Linked DNA regions of Homo sapiens: regions 1 and 2 are each linked to region 3. Evidence: promoter capture Hi-C in 16 types of primary human blood cells and fetal thymus (Javierre and others, 2016). All regions are on one chromosome and are shown on one strand. Each heading gives the region's core, a stretch centred on a gene start or on the middle of the fragment in contact. The rest is flanking DNA. Distances are from core to core; before and after follow the strand shown.

What was found. The method cuts DNA at HindIII sites, captures the fragments that hold promoters and counts their contacts. A CHiCAGO score of 5 or more calls a contact.
Region 1: a contact is called between a fragment that was not itself captured here and the fragment with the promoter of NTRK2 in region 3, in 1 of 17 cell types (megakaryocytes). The highest score is 5.0, in megakaryocytes.
Region 2: a contact is called between a fragment that was not itself captured here and the fragment with the promoter of NTRK2 in region 3, in 1 of 17 cell types (erythroblasts). The highest score is 5.1, in erythroblasts.

Annotation. Positions count from the first base shown.
Region 1 is chr9:85,270,889-85,274,145 of GRCh38, forward strand. The region is part of intron 3 of LOC105376119 (a long non-coding RNA gene); the gene reads right to left. Among named protein-coding and RNA genes, the nearest start is that of AGTPBP1, 470 kb to the right of the region's middle. The HindIII fragment of the contact is 5,117 bases long and covers 1-3,257 here.
Region 2 is chr9:85,369,369-85,372,767 of GRCh38, forward strand. It overlaps the pseudogene LOC107987089. Among named protein-coding and RNA genes, the nearest start is that of AGTPBP1, 370 kb to the right of the region's middle. The HindIII fragment of the contact is 5,395 bases long and covers 1-3,399 here.
Region 3 is chr9:84,667,850-84,671,253 of GRCh38, forward strand. NTRK2 (neurotrophic receptor tyrosine kinase 2) reads left to right here and starts at 1,880. Exons shown (of 19, transcript NM_006180.6): 1 at 1,880-2,039; 2 at 2,528-3,111. The coding sequence starts at 2,900. RefSeq lists a silencer at 405-624. The HindIII fragment of the contact is 10,588 bases long and covers 1-3,404 here.

The sequences.
Region 1 (3,257 bases), core at 9-2,508, 600 kb after region 3:
ATTCTCCTACCTCAGCCTCCCGAGTAGCTGGGACTACAGGCACCCACCACCACGCCCGGCTAATTTTTTGTATTTTTAGTAGAGATGGGGTTTCACCATGTTAGCCAGGATGGTCTCGATCTCCTGACCTCAAACCCCCGTGTTTTGAGATTTCAGGTGCTAACTTGGTGAAACCCCATCTCTACTATAAGTACAAAAAATTAGCCAGGCGTGGTGGTGGGCGCCTGTAGTCCCAGCTACTCGGGAGGCTGAGGCAGGAGAATGGCATGAATCCGGGAGGTGGACCTTGCAGTGAGCCGAGATCGCACCACTGCACTTCAGCCTGGGCAACACTGCAAGACTTCGTCTCAAAAATAAATAAATAAATAAATAAGTAAAATTCCTGCCCAATCCCACCTCCCATTTCTGGGCCCTTCTTCAGCTTCTTTTTGCCCATTTCATTTTTATATCACATCAATACATGTATACTGTATTTTTCCAAATATAATATGTATATGTAATTTTTAAAATACAGGTTTTTCAAAGTCAGCCCCACTTACCTCCATCAATCCTTGCGCTAAGCAAATATGATCACTTTTTAAAGTTTTTGGTTGCTTCTTGAGAACTATTATTAACCTTTACATCCCTCAGATTACTTGTCATGGTTCTTGGCTAATAGTAAGTGCTGAGTTGATTTTGGCTAAATGAGACTGACTTCCCGCAGACTTTCACAAGAATACATTATCTTGCCTTTGAAATTTTCTTCTTCCTTTTCTGAAACTCTCCATACCACTTTATTCTATATTTTAATTCCCTTTGGCCTTCCAAACCCCTTTTTTCCTTTGGAAATACAACAAATATCATTAAACATGAAAAGCAATAGGGGGAGGACAATATATAAAATAGTTCCACATTACAGAATAATTACTAAGAACTGAAGAATTTTTTTTTAACCAACTGCACAAACTAATAACCAAAGTTTGGAAACGTCAAGATCTATGATCAATTCCTTTCATAAAAGGTGAAGGTCATTTTTAATTAGTGAGTCGATTACTTCCATTTAATGGATGCATGAAATTCTTAAAAATTCAACTCAACAACCATTTACTGAGCACTCAGTATGTGTTCATTGTTGCCTGAAATCTAAAGATAGCTAAAATGTAGCTATGTCCTTAGAGGAGCCCGCTAACCAAAGCAGGAGATAGAGACATAAGTGAAGATACAAGGTAGTGATTATGGGGCTGGTGGAGAGAGAGGAGGACTCAGAGGACACATATAGACATCCTCAATTTCAAGGTGGAAAATGATGATTATGGTGCCACTTTCAGATTCCACCTGGCGGCAGAATTAATAGTGGCTTGTGCACCCTGAAATATAGTTACACACTTCCCCCACTTTTTTAGAAGATGTAAGGAAGGTAAACTTAAGCCTAATGTAATCACACATCCAAAAATCAGTGAATTTCAAAAGGATACCATTTTTAATTATGCATATAAATATATTCCATTAGTGCCACAACCTCCAGCAATCATTAGGAATCATTTTTTATTTTCTCTGGGGTCTCAACAGGTATTGACCATTAACTGCCATGGGAAGCCCCTTCACTATTTGTTTTCTGACTACTTGCTATCTTCAGTGCCCTAGAAGAATCTTCGACAGATTATCAGAACATTAAATATAAATACAGAACACTAAAGAAAATCTTTAAGAATTCATCTCTTGTCAAGGTTATCTTGAAGACAACCCAGGTCAAAGGCATATTGTCTGAAACCTGAGGTATAGTTGCCCGGATTTACGAAGTGAGGGGTTTTGGGGGTGGGTAGAATGTTAAGGAAGAAATCGATCAGAAATAGATTTTTGTTCTCAGAGTACCATACAAAGCATGAACTTCCCCCTAAGTCTTTGTCTTTTTAAATGTGGTATCCCATCCATTAGATGCTCATCATACAGTTATTTTGTCTTTTTATTTTAACTAGCTTAGATAGAACAATGCTGTTCTTGCAAAGCCTTACCACAGGAAAAGAATATAGGAGAAGGGGAAGATCTGAACCAAGTCACAACGAAGTAGGGAAAGTTTGTTTCTGATGTTCTTACTCCCCTTTCAAATGCCTTCCATAGCCACCTGTCTCAGGATGGCTGCCTCCAGAAGAAGATCGTAAGATAAGAATATCAGTGCAAGTAGTTTTCAATTTTAAAAAAAAAGTGATCTCAGAAAGCTCTGATAAGGGAATAGGACAATAAAAAGGGGAAAGGAAGGAAACCAATAAAGGATGTATTATCAAGTAACTTACTACTAGGACAACTGGGGTTCAACTCCAATGAGGACTCCGATAAAGAATACAAAACCTTTCTAGTTATCCCCAGCAATTATCCCCAGCAAGAAATGAGAAAGCTGGGGTATTCATCCACCAATCCCTGTCCATCATTGATTTCGAGCTGTTTCCAGAGGCATGAACTACCAATGCTTCTGACCCTCCCCATACAAAGCCAAGAGAAAGCCCTCATGTGGAGAGTTGGAGGTACCTGCAGTAGGAGGAGGTGAGTACGCACTAGAATGGCGCAGGCCAATGTTATATGGGCAGGACATCAACAGTGACTACTGCACCACCTTATCTTTTATTTACTCAGCGTTTCTTTCTTTTTTTTTCTTTTTCCTTTTTTTTTTTTTTTTTTGAGACAGAGTCTCAGTCTTGTTGCTAAGGCTGGAGTGCAATGGTGCGGTCTCGGCTAACCGCAACCTTCACCTCCTGGGTTCAACCAATTATCCTGCCTCAGCCTCCCTAGTAGCTGGGATCACAAGCATGTGCCACCATGCCTGACTAATTTTGTATTTTTAGTAGAGACGGGGTTCCTCATGCTGGTCAGGCTGGTCTCGAACTCCCAACCTCAGGTGATCCACCCACCTCAGCCTCCCAAAGTGCAGGGATTACAGACGTGAGCCACCACGCCCGGTCTTACTCAACATTTTCAAAGCCTGTTCTTTCCACGTATTTCTCTCCTTCCGTCAGCACTTTAAAGTTAGAGGTCTTTTCCTCTATAGGGGGGAAAATGGGGAAAAAGTTGAGTAAAAGGGGAGCCCTGGAGCATGTGGTGATTTTAAAAAAACTGAATAAGAATTATTTTTATGAAGTTTGGGCCACAGGGGAGAGTTATTGCAGAACTAATGGAATTTTAGGGGGAAATTCTTGTCTTGTATTTGTACGAAATAGCTCTGCTTCGATTAATAATAATGACTTGTGGGAATAATTCAGTAAGACTTGTCTCTCCTTGTCTCCTTG
Region 2 (3,399 bases), core at 509-3,008, 700 kb after region 3:
CCCACCCAAAAGAGCTTGAATATTTATCTAATTGTATATTAGATTGTCATCTAATGAAATTGTGTTTTCAAACCCTGTATAATTTAAACACATCTATTTCATTTGGGGCTTTTCAAAATATTATTTCCCATTTCTGAAAATATTCATGAATTTAATTTGAAAAAAATACAAAACCTTGGAAAGATTCCTTGAGAAACTTTGATTATTTTAAAGTTCCAATTCCACAAAGTGAAAAAGCAAACAATCTGACAGCAACTAAATGCACTGAGGGGGGGCGGGGAACAAGACAATTATTGCATTCGAAAAGGCAATTTGAAACATTTTCACAGATAATAGATACCATAAATCTTTGTCTGATCCACTAACAAATATTTTTTCAGATAATGAACAGCTGATTTTTATATCTAAAACCCCCAAATTCCTATTTTATTCTTACAGTTCACATAGATTGATCAAAGTTGACTGCTTGATAAAGCCAATGGAATTTCCCATGATTTTTGTGCACTTTAGTTTCTAGTGCTGACATTGAGAGAAACCAGGGAAAGTTCTTTGGTCCTGGAGCAAATTTTTTTTGACTTTTATTTTAGGTACATGTGCAGGTTTGCTGTGTTGGTAAACCATGTGTCATGGAGCTTTGGTATACAGATTATTTCATCACCCAGGTAATAAGCAAAGTGCCTGATAGGTATTCTGTCTGCTCCTCTCTGTCCTCCCACTCTCAACCCTCAAGTATGCCCCAGTGTCCATTGTTCCCCTTTATGTGTCCATGTGTTCTCATTGTTTATCTCTGTGTTAGTCGTGGTTCTCTAGAGGGACAGAATTAATAGGATAGATATATATTTAAAAGGGAGTTTATTAAGTAGTATTAACTCATACAATCACAAGATCCTACAATAGGCCATCTGCAAGCTGAGGAGCAAGGAAGCCAGTCCAAGTGCCAACGCTGAAGAACTTGGAGTTCGATGTTTAAGGACAGGAAGCATCCAGCACGGGAGAAAGATGTAGGCTGGGAGGCTAGGCCAGTGTAGCCTTTTCACGTTTTTCTGCCTGCTTTATATTTGCTAGCAGCTGATTAGATGGTGCCCACCCAGAATAAGGGTAGGTCTGCCTTCCTCAGCCCACTGACTCAAATGTTAATCTCCTTTGGCAACACCCTCACAGACACACCCAAGATCAATGCTTTGCATCCCTCAATCCAATCAAGTTGCCACTCAGTATTAACCATCACAAGTCTGCCCCTTGTCAACTTGAACCCATACACGTCTCCTGAGATCACACATAATCTTCAAATAAAGACAATAATAAGGTCATAATTACACCTAACATAATACAACTATCCTTCGTACAACCGGAAATGCACCAATCCTCAACCCAAATACTATTACAGAAAGTTAACAGTACTTAAATGCTGATGTGAAGTCAATAAATCTTATGTCACATGATAAAGGAAAAAGGAAATAAAATGAAGATGTTTTCTTAGTACAAGTGTATACATGCACAAACATGTTTTTAACAAAAGAAGGAGGAAATACTCATGACAATTACAGTCCTCATTTCTGCAGCTGGTCCCCTGGTTATAGCTGGTATTAATGACTACCTTCTTCTACTACTCATTCTGTATTCCCTTTGCTGTCAGCAAGCACCTCAGCAGGTCATAGCTTTTTTCCTGGTGGAGTGAACTAAACCTTCATTCCTGAAGGGCCTGGGTCATTTGTAGTCCTGACCAGATTGGGCTGTTGTAGTTTCCCATTAACCTTAATCACAGGTCATGGTAATACTAAGAGACACCGTAATGGATCTCCTGTATTCCATACATACTCTTCCTTCCCTCCATTGTGGAATAGTAGACTGATTTCATCTTCACAGTCCAGGTCAATCACCACAGCCAATGCTGTAACTCCCTTCTTAGCTTGTTGACTTAAATGTAGGAGGAGCCCACAGTGTCCAGGTGGCAATCTTAACTTCCAGTTTAATGGCATTGTCATGTCTCCTGGTGGCAGCATTCCTCCCTCTAGAACTAAGACCTTTAGGCCAGCAGAACGTAATGTAGAGGGAACAGGAAGCAAAAATTTTGCTAACGAATCACTAGGGGTGTTGGTGAGTGGTGCCACTTCCACTTCCACCCCTTGATTCCTGGATCTGTGAATCCTGCCTATGGCAGATTCAGTACCATATATTGGACGCTGATTCAGAGTATACACAACCTTTGGGAGAACTTTGCCGCAGCCATGCAAAGTATTATCATCTAGTTGGCATTGTAATTGATCGTAATTGTAACTTCAAATGGCCATTCCACCATTCTATCAATCCAGCTGCTTCAGGATGATGGGGAACATGGTAAGACAAGTGACTTCCATGAGCATGAACTCACTGCCACACTTCTTTAGCTGTAAAGTGAGTTTCTTGTTCAGAGGCAGTGCTGCGTGGAATACCATGACAGTGGATAAGGCGTTCTGTGAGTCCATGGATGGTAGTCTTGGCAGAAGCACTGCATGCAGGATAGGCAAACCCATATCTGGAGTAAGTGTTTATTGCAGTGAGGACAAACCTCTGCCCTTTCCATGATGGAAGAGGTCCAATATAATCAACCTGCTACCAGGTAGCTGGCTGATGACCCCGAGGAATGGTGCCATATCAAAGTCTCAGTGTTGGTCTCTGCTGCTGGCAAATTGGGCACTCAGCAGTGGCCGTAGCCAGGTCAGCCTTGGTGAGTGGAAGTCCATGTTGCTAAGCCCATGCATAACCTCCACCCCTGCCACCATGGCCACTTTATTCATGGGCCCAGTGGGCGATGACAGGAGTAGCTGGGGAAAGAGGCTGAGTGGTGTCCACAAAATGGGTCATCCTATCCACTTGATTATTGAAATCCTCCTCTGCAGAGGTCATCTGTCAGTGAGCACTCACATAGGATACAAATATCTTCACAGCTTTTAACAACTCAGAGAGGTCCATCCACATACCTCTTCCCCAACATTCTTTGTCACCAATTCTCCAATCATGCTACTTCCAAGTCCCTGACCATCCAGCCAAACCATTGGCTACAGCCCATAAGTCAGTATGTAATTGCACATCTGGCCATTTCTCCTTCCATGCAAAGTGCACAACAAGGTGTACTGCTCGAAGTTCTGCCCACTGGGAAGATTTCCTTTCACGCTGTCCTCCAGGGATATCCTAGAAAGGGACTGTAGTGCCACAGCTGTCCACTTTCAGGTGGTGCCTGCATATCGTGCAGAACCATCTGTGAACCAGGCCCTAGTCTTCTCTTCCTCTGTCAACTGATCATAGGGAACTCCCTATGAGGCCATTGGTGCAGGCTGGAGGAGAGAAGGTAGGGTGGCAGGAGTGGAGATCATGGGCATTTGAGCCACTTCCTTATGTAACTTACTTGGCCTTCAGGAT
Region 3 (3,404 bases), core at 630-3,129:
TCATTTTTGCCCTTGGCGTCTCTTCCTTGGCGCGTCCTCACCTAGTAGAGAATAGAGGCGCAGCTCAGGAGTAAACTTCAGCCTGGCCGTTCACCACTCGATGTGTGTTACAGCCGAGTGACAGTGGTGAGATAGACCTGCTGGCCTTGCTTTCGGGACCTGCAGCAAGATTTTTGGGTGCTGTCCAAGAATTCCCGCGGTTACACTCAGCGCCCAGGATCTGTACAAAAAAGCCCCAATAGATGTTTTACGTTCCCTTCGTAATATTTAACGCTTGGCCTAGATCCGAGCATTCACTCTAACGTTCGGTTTCTTGATCCTTCCCATCCCCAAACTCTGCGGGTAGATCAGTGACTATTACTATATTTTGAACGAGACTCCAACCCATTGCTCTCTCGAGAGAGAAGGATTGCCCGCCTTTTTCCCCCGGGCAGGAGCTCGGCGAGGCCAGGAGAGCCGCGCACCGGCCGGGCAGGGACGCGCAGGCGTCGGGCGCCGCTGGTTGCGCATCTGGCGCCAGAGCGCGCCCCCAGCGCTGTGCCCGCCGCGACCCGGGCCATGGGCTGGTGCTCCGGAGCGTGCCGGGCGCTCTCTCCCCGCGCGGGGGCACCAGAGCCCTCGGAAGTGTCAGGCACTGCGGTGTATTTTCCCCGTTCTCTTTTAAATGACTGCGGAAAAACAGATTCCGAGCCGCAAAAGGGAAGACGGATTCTCAGACAAGGCTTGCAAATGCCCCGCAGCCATCATTTAACTGCACCCGCAGAATAGTTACGGTTTGTCACCCGACCCTCCCGGATCGCCTAATTTGTCCCTAGTGAGACCCCGAGGCTCTGCCCGCGCCTGGCTTCTTCGTAGCTGGATGCATATCGTGCTCCGGGCAGCGCGGGCGCAGGGCACGCGTTCGCGCACACCCTAGCACACATGAACACGCGCAAGGTACGGCAGGGGAGCAAGGGCTTGGGATGCCCTACGTGGGGGTGGGCATCGCGGGGAGTGAATCCACGATCTGGGAATGGCTACATCCCGTCAGGTTAAAGGATGAGAGAAAATGACGCGGCGCCACACATCGGACAGGCCAGGGTGGCCACCGAGCATTTAGAATACGCATCAGGCGCGCTCCCTTCCCCTCACATGTCTCTATTTCCCGGGCGTGTGATGGCAGAAAACGGCAGGAAAAAGACCCACTTAGAGAGCTAGAATTGTGTTTGGAGACTCCCTTCCCTCTGCAAAAGCACCAACAGGAAGCCCCTCCAAAACCACCGATCCCCAAATAGGTGGCCCGGAATGGGGGCGGTGATCCTTGGTTACCAATGCAGAACACGTTTTGGTGTTTACAACATTTATTTATTTTTAGGATAGCTTGCCCTCCCTTTTAGGCAGGGTGGGAAAGGAGAACGCGGGGAGGGAGAAGGGAGGGAGGATTCCTATAATAAGAATCAGCGCATTTTTCAGAGCTGAACCAAGCACGGTTTCCATTTCAAAAAGGGAGACAGCCTCTACCGCGATTGTAGAAGAGACTGTGGTGTGAATTAGGGACCGGGAGGCGTCGAACGGAGGAACGGTTCATCTTAGAGGTACCTGGATGTAAATGCACACACACACACAGACACACACACGCACGCGCGTGCATGTCTACACGGCCAGGATGTGTGCGTGTGTGCGCGCGTGTGTGAACTCCCACATGCTGCTGCTGTCTGCTTCTGGCCAGTGGCACCGATGCCTCCCTCCTCCCTGCTCGCCCCCAGATTCCCCTCCCCTCCCTGGTGCTTTTGTCTGGAGGGTGTTATGGGTTTGTGTGTGTATGAGCGTGTGTGTGTTTTTGGATTTCAGACTAATTTTCTGGAGTTTCTGCCCCTGCTCTGCGTCAGCCCTCACGTCACTTCGCCAGCAGTAGCAGAGGCGGCGGCGGCGGCTCCCGGAATTGGGTTGGAGCAGGAGCCTCGCTGGCTGCTTCGCTCGCGCTCTACGCGCTCAGTCCCCGGCGGTAGCAGGAGCCTGGACCCAGGCGCCGCCGGCGGGCGTGAGGCGCCGGAGCCCGGGTGAGCAGCGCAGATAGTGCCCTCGGTCGCCTCGGCCCTCACTGTCTCCCCCTGGGGCGGCCTCGGCTACTCCCCAGGTGGGACGTGCCGCGCCACCTGCCCGCGCCACCGGCACCCAGCGGCCGTGGCGGATTCTGCAGCATCATTCGGGGGCCCCGTCGCGGAGCCAAAGCCGCCGGCAGTCTCCGCATTCCCCTTTAAAGGGTCCTTCGCCCGGCCTGTACCATGGAATCCTGTCTTGGGGACCCTTTCCCTACCTCCCCTCCCTTGGCCTCAGGCTCGAAGAGAGAGTGGGCACACTGGTGGCTCCAGCGGCGTCAGTGCCATCGCGGGGCAAGTTGATTCCTGGGCCGGAGCTGGGCACTCATCCATCCACAGTCTCCGGGCTGGGGTCGGGGTGGGGATGACGCGAGCAGAGAGGGAGAGTGCCCCAATTAGTGGTGTTGGGGGTCCTACGCTCAGTCTTACGCGTGTCTGTTTGTCCTCAGCCTCGAGGTGCATACCGGACCCCCATTCGCATCTAACAAGGAATCTGCGCCCCAGAGAGTCCCGGGAGCGCCGCCGGTCGGTGCCCGGCGCGCCGGGCCATGCAGCGACGGCCGCCGCGGAGCTCCGAGCAGCGGTAGCGCCCCCCTGTAAAGCGGTTCGCTATGCCGGGGCCACTGTGAACCCTGCCGCCTGCCGGAACACTCTTCGCTCCGGACCAGCTCAGCCTCTGATAAGCTGGACTCGGCACGCCCGCAACAAGCACCGAGGAGTTAAGAGAGCCGCAAGCGCAGGGAAGGCCTCCCCGCACGGGTGGGGGAAAGCGGCCGGTGCAGCGCGGGGACAGGCACTCGGGCTGGCACTGGCTGCTAGGGATGTCGTCCTGGATAAGGTGGCATGGACCCGCCATGGCGCGGCTCTGGGGCTTCTGCTGGCTGGTTGTGGGCTTCTGGAGGGCCGCTTTCGCCTGTCCCACGTCCTGCAAATGCAGTGCCTCTCGGATCTGGTGCAGCGACCCTTCTCCTGGCATCGTGGCATTTCCGAGATTGGAGCCTAACAGTGTAGATCCTGAGAACATCACCGAAATGTGAGTTCCTGGAGCTTTTCCTCCTTTTTCTCCTTGCCCCTAGGGCCCGAGCTGGCCAGGTGGGTAGGTCCTGGAAGTGAATGCTGTCCCAAGAGTGGGGAGAAGTCAAAGACAAGGGATGCAGGACAGGGTCATCTGTCAGTTACCTGCTGTTTCACTGGCTTGGGACTGCTAGTGCAGGGAGAAGTGTGACACTTTAGAATAAGTTTCAAATATAGATATACATATGCCGATTATATATTTATTCCTCGTGGGAAGGAACTCACTATGCTTTTTATATTTCAAAGCTCTGC